Linked DNA regions of Homo sapiens: region 1 is linked to region 2. The links are contacts of gene promoters, found by promoter capture Hi-C in human tissues and cell types (Jung and others, 2019). All regions are on one chromosome and are shown on one strand. The core of a region is centred on a gene start or on the middle of the fragment in contact, and the rest is flanking DNA. Distances in the headings are between cores, read along the strand shown. Region 1 overlaps NUP50 (nucleoporin 50). Region 2 holds the start of SMC1B (structural maintenance of chromosomes 1B).

Region 1 (4,624 bases), core at 357-2,856, 230 kb before region 2:
AAATGTGTAGAGCAAGCATATGGTGGTTAGTGTTCTTGTATAAACTTTGACTTGATCTTTATTCATCGGCTTTACTGATAACTGGTTACTAAATTCTACTCCTTGAACACATACTTTTTGAGCGGTCACAAAAATAGGGCACAGTAGGTCGGGCGCAGTGGCTCACGCTTGTAATCCCAGCACTTTGGGAGTCCGAGGCGGGCAGATCATGAGGTCAGGAGTTCAAGACCAGCCTGGCCAACATGACGAAACCCCATCTCTACTAAAATACAAAAATTAGCCGGGTGTGGTGGCGGGTGCCCGTAATCCCACCTACTCGGGAGGTTGAGGCAGGAGAATCGCTTGAACCTGGGAGGCAGAGGTTGCAGTGAGCCAAGATCGTGCCACGGCACTCCAGCCTGGGTGACAGAGCAAGACTGTCTTGGTGTGGGGGGAGATACAGTAAAAGCAGAAAGTATGAAGGCAGAGTGGCAAAAAAATCTAGATGATTTAATCAAATTAGGCTAAATAAATGGTTCAATTATTAACTTTCTATAGGTTCTCTTGCTGCAAATGGCCCTACCACCTTGGTTGATAAAGTTTCAAATCCCAAAACTAATGGGGACAGTCAGCAGCCCTCCTCCTCTGGCCTTGCTTCCAGTAAAGCTTGTGTCGGAAATGCCTATCACAAGCAGTTGGCCGCCTTGAACTGCTCCGTGCGGGATTGGATAGTGAAGCACGTGAATACAAACCCCCTCTGTGATCTGACACCTATCTTTAAAGACTATGAGAAATATTTAGCAAACATTGAACAGCAACACGGGAACAGTGGCAGGAATTCTGAAAGTGAATCTAACAAAGTGGCAGCTGAAACACAGTCTCCTTCCCTTTTTGGCTCAACAAAATTACAGCAAGAGTCAACGTTTTTGTTTCATGGCAACAAAACTGAAGATACACCTGACAAGAAGATGGAGGTGGCATCTGAAAAGAAAACGGACCCATCATCACTAGGAGCGACAAGTGCCTCATTTAATTTCGGCAAGAAAGTTGATAGCTCTGTTTTGGGCTCATTAAGCTCTGTCCCCCTGACTGGATTTTCTTTCTCCCCTGGAAACTCCAGTTTATTTGGCAAAGATACTACCCAGAGTAAACCAGTCTCTTCACCATTTCCCACTAAACCATTGGAGGGCCAAGCAGAAGGTGACAGTGGTGAATGCAAAGGTAAGTACCAGCTTTGTCGTTGAGTCGAGGTTTGCATAAGATTCTTGTTTCTTGGGAAACCCAGAGACTTTGATTCCAAATATGAGTCTGGATTCACATTGAGACGTTGTTCTCTCCATGTGTGATCTCAGACAGAGCTAATCAGCTTCTCTGAGTTTCAGATTCCTGCTTTATAAAAGAGTAAGACTTTTGTAGGGTTGTTTATAAGGATTAAAAATAAAATGAATTTGAAAACACCTGACTTTGAAAAGTCTCAAACACACATGGTTTAGCATATAAAAAACAAGTGAATTAAAGACGTTTTTTGAAAATTGTGTTTTTGGAAAAGTTCATCAAGTTCATCATGAATGTCCCCTGAATTGATTTGTACTTAGGAGATCTCACTGTAAATAAAGTCATGTGGCAAAACAGTACTTGACTATACATTACAAATGTAGACTTTTCATAGCCATAGAGAAGAAATCAACATTGTTTTCCTCCTGTGGGTTTGGAGGCGCCTCCTTTCCAGAGCGTGGCAGTGGTGTCTAAGTGATGTTTCCTGTGTGTATCGTCAGTGCCCCAGACAAGGCACAAGGTCTGGGCCCTCCAGACCTCTGTTGTTAGCTTAAAAAGTGGGGTGATGTCATGATGCTGCTTCCTCACATGGTGGTTGTGAACAGGTGATGTCTGTGAAGACACCTACTTCTAAGCAGTTGAAAGTGAGGCCAGGTGAGGTGGCCCACACCTGTAATCCCAGCACTTCGGGAGGCCAAAGTGGAAGGCTCACCTGAGGCCAGGAGTTTGAGACCAGCCTGGGCAACATAGCAAGACCCCATCTCTACAAAAATTTTTAAAAATTAGCCAGGCCAGGTGGTGGGCGCCTGTAGTCACAGCTACTCTAGAGGCTGAGGTGGGAGTATCTCGAGCTCAGAAGTTCAAGGTTGCCATGAGCCGTGGTTGCATCACTGCACTCCAGCCTGGGCAGCACAGACCTTGCCTCAACAAAAGAAAAAGTGTACTTCTCAGACATATGGACATACTGATCCTTGAGGAAGAAAACTGCATTTGCCAATTTGCCTCTGAAATATTACGGTTTTCTATCAGGAGTCTAGACTTCCATTACTGTTTTGCCTTGCCCTGCTTTCAAGTATATCCTCAGGCACGGGCCCTCTGGGCACAGGGTGAAATAAGGGTCTCCCCTTTTCTTTCTTCTCTGCCTCCCATAAATAAAACAAATGGGGAGTCTTTCCTGAGGCAGGCACTGGGGATTTGAATCGAGTCCCAGTGGAGGCAGGATGCCCCTCAGTGAGCGCCTGTTCCTTGTCCCTTGGTTATCACAGTTTAAGCATCAGAAGACTCGGGAGATTGGAGGGATAAGACGGACAGTCGTGTGACCTAATCATCTGAGCATCACAGTTGTTTTTCTTAGAATTGCTTTTTGGTGAGTTTTTATGCAACTGCCGTTCTCTTTAAGAGGATCCTTTTATATATGTGGGGTTTTTTATTTTTTTGAGACAGGGTCTCGTTCTGTCACCCAGGCTAGTAGTGCAGTGACGCAATCATAGCTCACTACAGCCTCTACCTCCTGGGGTGAAGCAATCCTCCCACTTCAGTCTGCCAAGTAGCTGGGTCCACAGGCACGTACCGCCACACCTGGTTAACTTTTTTATTTTTTGTAGAGATGGGGGGCGTCTCACCATGTTGACCAGACTGGTGTTGAACTCCTGGGCTCAAGCGATCTTCCTGCCTTGGCCCTGCAGCGTGCTGGGATTACAGGCGTGAGCCACTGTACACAGCCTAATACATGTGTTTAAATGATGGCCTAGGTCTCCCGTGTTTGGGAGACCCCGTTAGTGGGGATACCTTTGGTACCAGAGCAGTGACCCATGTGGCAATTCAGACAAAGCTTAAATTACTTACACTGGGGCTTTGGAATGATTTTTCTGACAACTTGTCCCCTGTTAAAAAAAAAAAAAGTATTTTTCTATCTTTGGCTATTACTGATACTTGTAGATGTAGTCACAGGAATATTCAGGGGTGAAGGTGTTAAAAACTCATCCGAGATGGAATTTTCCAGTGGGTAATTTGCATATAGAGTGTTGATTTTTTTTTTCTGTCATAAGCATGGAGATTTTTCCATTTTAAGGTTTTCTATATATTGGAAGTTATTTTAGAATTAAGAGGTATGTTCCCATTAAAAGGGATTCTTATTTTTCACAAAATAGTTAAAATCCTGCAGGTACTCCCTTCTGGCATCCCCCCCCCCCCCCATTAAGTGTGCATTTTAGTCTGTCAGTTTACATGGAGTGCTCCGGTGGAGGTTTAGGGTGTTACGTAACAAAACTTCAGTCACTTCTTTAAGCTCTGGATTGGAATCTTACTGAATTATTGTCATTTTTATAAAAGGTGGAGATGAAGAAGAGAATGATGAGCCACCCAAAGTAGTAGTTACCGAAGTAAAAGAAGAAGATGCTTTTTACTCCAAAAAGTAAGAATCCCCACAACCTGCTGGCGCATGTGTTTTGCAGGCATGGTGGCATGCTTCAGGCTGGAGAATGTCCTCACGGCACTTGACTGAGCTTCCAGTCTCGGGGTCAAGCTTTGCCTGCTCTCAAGTGGAACAGGAAAGAATTCTTGGCCAGTTTATTTAAAAATCCAGTTCTAGAAATGTCCTGGTGGGCAGGTCTCACTCTTTTCTGTCACTTTAGCTCTTTTAAAGTGCTTTAGAGACAGGATCTTCCATGATCTTCCCAACCCCATCCCATCCCATCCCATTCCATCCCGTCTTCTCTCCCTGTGTCTTTCTCCCTCCCCTTCCTCCTCCCCAACAAAGAAATCGCAGAGTCAGTCAGTGATTTCAGGTTTGGCCTCAGAAGGCATCTCTCATCCCTTCCTGGAGACTTGGTTGGCCTTTCTGGATTTTCTCATAGTCAAAAAGTTAAGCACAGTAACCGTCCCTTCCTGTTGAGGACTTATAAAAACTTTCATCTTCCTTTCAATTAAATGAGATTAGTTTTTACAAAGATATTTGCTGAAAAAACATCTGTGCCATTTCAGAAGCTTTCAAAGATGTGTTTTTGTAATGCAAAAATTTCCGAATAATGAGCCAGCAGTTTTCCATGAACAGGTCACCACATCCTGTGGGATTCCCAGGTGTTAGTTTCAAGAACTTTTAAAAGAGGCCAACAATTTCTTCTGTGTTTAAATTTCATTACTCACATGACATAAAGGAGTGACCCAACTTTAAGATTTTTTTTTTTTTTAATTAGAATCAAATGAGGCCAGGCATGGTGGCTCATGCCTGTAATCCCAGCACTTTGGGAGGCTGAGACAGGCAGATCACCTGAGGTCAGGAGTTCCAGACAAACCTGGCCAACATGGTGAAATCCCGTCTCTACTAAAAATATGAAAATTAGCCTAATGTGGTGGCGCACGCCTGTAATCC
Region 2 (4,350 bases), core at 502-3,001:
TGATGGAATTACAGGTGTGGGCCACCATGTCAGGCCTTATTTTTTTGTTGAGACAGAGTCTTGCTCTGTCGCCCAGGCTGGAATGCAGTGGCACAGTCTTGGCTCACTGCAACCTCCGCCTCCCGGGTTCAAGTGATTCTCCTGCCTCAGTCTCCCAAGTAGCTGGTATTACAGGCACGTGACACCACCCCCAGCTAATTTTTGTATTTTTAGTACAGACAGGGGTTTCACTATGTTGGCCAGGCTGGTTTCTAACTCCTGACCTAAGGTGATCCGCCCGCCTCGGCCTCCCAAAGTGCTGGGATTATAGGCATGAGCCACGGCGCCCGGCCAATTTTATTTTATATTTATCTTATTTTATTTTATTTTAGAGTCGAAGTCTCGCTCTTGTTACCCAGGCTGGAGTGCGGTGGTGCTATCTTGGCTCACTGCAACCTCTGCCTCCCGGGTTCAAGCGATTCTCCTGCCTCAGCCTCCTCAGTAGCCGGGATTACAGGTGCATGTCACCACACCCGATTAATTTTTGTATTTTTAGTAGAGACAGGGCTTCACCATGTTGGTCAGGCTGGTCTCGAACTCCTGATCTCATGATCCACCCGCCTCGGCCTCCTAAAGTGCTGGAATTACAGGTGTGAGCCACCGCGCCCAGCCTTTTTTTTTTTTTTTTTTTTTTTTTTGAGACGAGAGTCGCACTGTGTTGCCAGGCTGGAGTGCAATGGCGTGTCCTTGGCTCACTGCAACTTCCACCTCCCAGGTTCAAGCGATTCTCCCGCCTCAGCCTCCAGAGTAGTTGGGATTACAGGCGTGTGCCACCACACCCAGCTAATTTTGGTATTATTAGTAGAGACCTCCGCAGGTCCTCTGGCCTCTCCAGACCTCAGTTTCCCCAACTATAAAATGGGGAGAGCAGCCATGCGCCATGGCTAACCAAAGACGGTGTCGCCAGGAACTTAGGAAAAGCTCAGTAAACTGGGTCATCATCACTACATTCCTGGGTCAAAGCTCCCTTGGATCCAAATGGTGGTTCTGGCTGCTTGGAACCCATTACCTCCTCGACAGCTCCCTCTCACTTCAACTTCGGATGAGAAGGGAAAAGGGACGCGAGTGACCAGGGCCAAGGGCAAGAGCAGTCCCCGAAGCAGGAGTGAGGGCAGAGAACAGGGCCCAGGGCGGGACCGGGGCGGAGAGGAAGCGTCAGGACCCCCAGGGTGGGGGGCGAGGGTTGGGAGCCCCTGAGATGAAGGGCGAGGGCCGGAGCTGAGGTGGGGTGGGGTCCCTCAGGGTGTCGGAGGAGGGTCGGGAGCCAGGAGGTGGAGGGCGAGAGCGGGGCCCGAGGCGGGGCCGAGTGGAAGGGTCAGGACCTCCGAGGTGGGGCGGAGGGACAAGGGTCGGGACCCCTGAGGTGGACGGCGAGGACCGGGGCTGAGGTGGGGTGATGGGCAGGGGCTGGGCCAGGGCCAGGCCGGGATCCGGTCGCGGTCAGGCTCCGGGACTGGAAGGGGAAGGCCGGCCAGGCGCCCGCGGCAGACGCCCACACCCCACAGGCCACGTGTGGCCTGGACGCCTGGGACGGCGGAGGCGCTCCGGTGGCGCCCTGAGCTGCTCAGTTACCAGAGCCGTTGGGGCCGATGATGCAGGTGAACCTCCGGAAGGGGCCAATGACCTGGCGGCCCCGCCACGACTTGAAATTTTCCACAAGCAGCAGCTCCAGGTGGGCCATGGCGCCGCCCTCCACGCCTCACCCGCGTTATCAAGCGCCCGCGGAAAAAGCGCGGGAAGGGATTCGCCAAGTGTCGCGAGAAGAGAGCGAGACGCGGCAAGCGCGGAGCCGTTCCTTAGCAACGAGTTGTTGACATTTCCGAGAGAGCGGGAGCGTCTGTACCTCTGCGGCGTCACTGGGAGCCCGACGGAAAACTGCGCTAAAGGCTTGTCTTTCCCCTGCCCGACCGAAGGAGCCGACCTTGCCTGCGCTACAGCTTCCTTATTTTCGTCGCCTGTTCTCCTGATCCTGCGTGTTCTAAAAACCCCTTAGGCTTTCCATGGGTTCCCAGACCATGGCGGTGGCGCTGCCCAGGGACTTGCGGCAGGACGCCAACCTGGCAAAGAGGAGGCACGCGGAGCTGTGCAGGCAGAAGCGGGTCTTCAACGCCAGAAACAGGATAATTGGGGTGAAAGGGCAGGGGCCGGGACGGGGTTAGAGCGGCAGATGCGGGCGAGGGGCTGCGTGGAGGGGGAAAGGAGATGAGTTCTAGGATGAAACATCTGAGCCAGGAGGCAGCAAACGGCCTCCTGCAGGGCCAATAATGCTCCCTCTCGAGCTCGCCTGGAGTCACCAACGGTTCTCCTCCCCTGAGCCAGATTTTCTACAACTCGTTTACAGTGGGGCAGAGATTAAAAATAATAATAAGTAGGATTGTTATTACTGAATAAAATGATCTGGCTCTAACCCTTCTCCTCTGTTTTTCCATTTATAGGGAGACACTGAAGCCTGGGATGTTCAAGTTCATGACCAGAAGATAAAAGAAGCTACTGAAAAAGCTAGACATGAAACCTTTGGTGAGCATTTCCTGAATGCTTATCTATTGGTTTAGGATTGTGTGGCTTTAGACTCCAGTCTTCCCCACCGTCCCCCTGCCCCGCCTTTTTTTTTTTATTTTTTATTTTTTTTATTTAATAGAGATAGGGTCTCACTATGTTGCCCAGGCTGGTCTGGAACTCCTGCGTGCAAGTGATCCTCCCACGTCAGTCTCCCAAAGTGCTGGAACTACAGGCATGAGCCACGGTACCCAGCCCTCCTTTCTTCACATATATAAAAAGTTGTCATTTTCACACTCTTCTTCCTTTTAAATTTCACAATTTCTTGTGCCCAGTTAACTTAATGCACTGATTCTTCTCTTAAAAACAGCTATTGAATTCGAATGTGGATTATAAGAAATAGATTTTAAGGGTATATGTATGTTTTCCTTCATTTTCTTAAAAAACTGGATAGGAAAAGCCTTAAACACAGAAAGACACACACACACACTCACTTGCTCTGCTCAAAAGTTTAAGACCGTCTATGAAGGACAGCTGTTTATACCAGACAACACATATGTCCGGGCTCACACCCTCAAGCTGACTCAGAGACAGACATGATTCAAATCATAGTATTCAAGTACCTTGAATACTGTTATTCAAGGTATTATTATTCCACTTCAAATACAACTTATTTTCCCCTATCGTGTCCAACAATTTCAACAATTGTTGAAATTTCACACTTTGAGAGGCTAAAACTAGAGGATCACTTGAGACCAGGAGCTCCAGACTTGCCTGGGCAACAAAGCGAGACCCCATCTCTACAAAAAATAAATTGAAAAAAAAAAAAAAAAGAAATTTCAGTGTTTTTAAACACCATAAAGATTTTTATAATAGAAAAAAAAGCAGGATACAAAATTGTACATACAATGGGCTGTTATGTTTTTAAAATATTTTAAAATATGCTCAGAAGAAGAAGAGAGGAAATATGCCAAAATGTTAGCAGGGTAATGTTGGAGGGATAGAATTATGAGTAAACTTTATTTTCTCCTTTATACTGTTCTGTATGTTCTAAACATTTTATCTTTTTTATTAATATTTTTAGTTATGAGGTAATTCAATCTTACAAAAACAATGTGACAGGTACATATGTACCCACCATCAGACTAGATGTTAACATTTTGCCAGATTGGCTTCAGATATCTTCAGTGTTTTTTGAGAATTGTGTTTTTTATATATGTGTATATATATATATATATATATAACAACACTGCCCTGCCCCCTACCTCTTAATTTTCCCCTCCTTTCTCCTCAGAAGTGTTTATCATTCCCATGCTTTTTTTTCTATTTTCTTTTGAGATGGAGTCTTGCTCTGTCTTCCAGGCTGGAGAGCTGTGGCGCGATCTCAGCTCACCGCAACCTCCGCCTCCTGGGTTCAAGCAATTCTCCTGTCTCAGCTTCCCGAGTAGCTGGGATTACAGGTGCACACCACCATGCTGGGCTGATTTTTGTATTTTTAGTAGAGACGAGGTTTCACCATGTTGGCCAGGCTGGTCTCGAACTCCTGACCTCAGGTGATCTTCCCGCCTCTGCCTCCCAAAGTGTTGGGATTACAGGCATGAGCCACCAGGCCCAGCCCCCACGCACTATTTATGCTTGTACTATTTATGTATGTATTCATAACAATATAAAATTGTTTTTATGTGTTTTTAAAATTTATGTAAATGGTATCCTATTGAATAGATCCATTTGCAGTATGCTTTTCTTTCATCCAGGCTTGTATTTTTGAAATTAATCAGTGATTTACATATAGAGAGTATTCATTTTAATTGTTTT

What was found. Contacts are between HindIII fragments. The study calls those that stand out against the background at their distance.
Region 1: a fragment that was not itself captured here is called in contact with the fragment with the promoter of SMC1B in region 2 in 1 of the 25 tissues and cell types used here (spleen).

What each region holds. Positions count from the first base shown.
Region 1 is chr22:45,177,701-45,182,324 of GRCh38, forward strand. NUP50 (nucleoporin 50) reads left to right here. Exons shown (of 8, transcript NM_007172.4): 5 at 538-1,200; 6 at 3,586-3,667. The region is part of intron 3 of LOC105373064 (a long non-coding RNA gene); the gene reads right to left. Among named protein-coding and RNA genes, the nearest start is that of NUP50, 16 kb to the left of the region's middle. The HindIII fragment of the contact is 3,650 bases long and covers 1-3,431 here.
Region 2 is chr22:45,411,848-45,416,197 of GRCh38, forward strand. SMC1B (structural maintenance of chromosomes 1B) reads right to left here and starts at 1,752. Exons shown (of 25, transcript NM_148674.5): 1 at 1,612-1,752. The coding sequence starts at 1,720. It overlaps RIBC2 (RIB43A domain with coiled-coils 2), which reads left to right and starts at 1,846. Exons shown (of 7, transcript NM_015653.5): 1 at 1,846-2,168; 2 at 2,475-2,556. The coding sequence starts at 2,040. RefSeq lists an enhancer at 1,835-2,668. The HindIII fragment of the contact is 17,180 bases long and covers 1-4,350 here.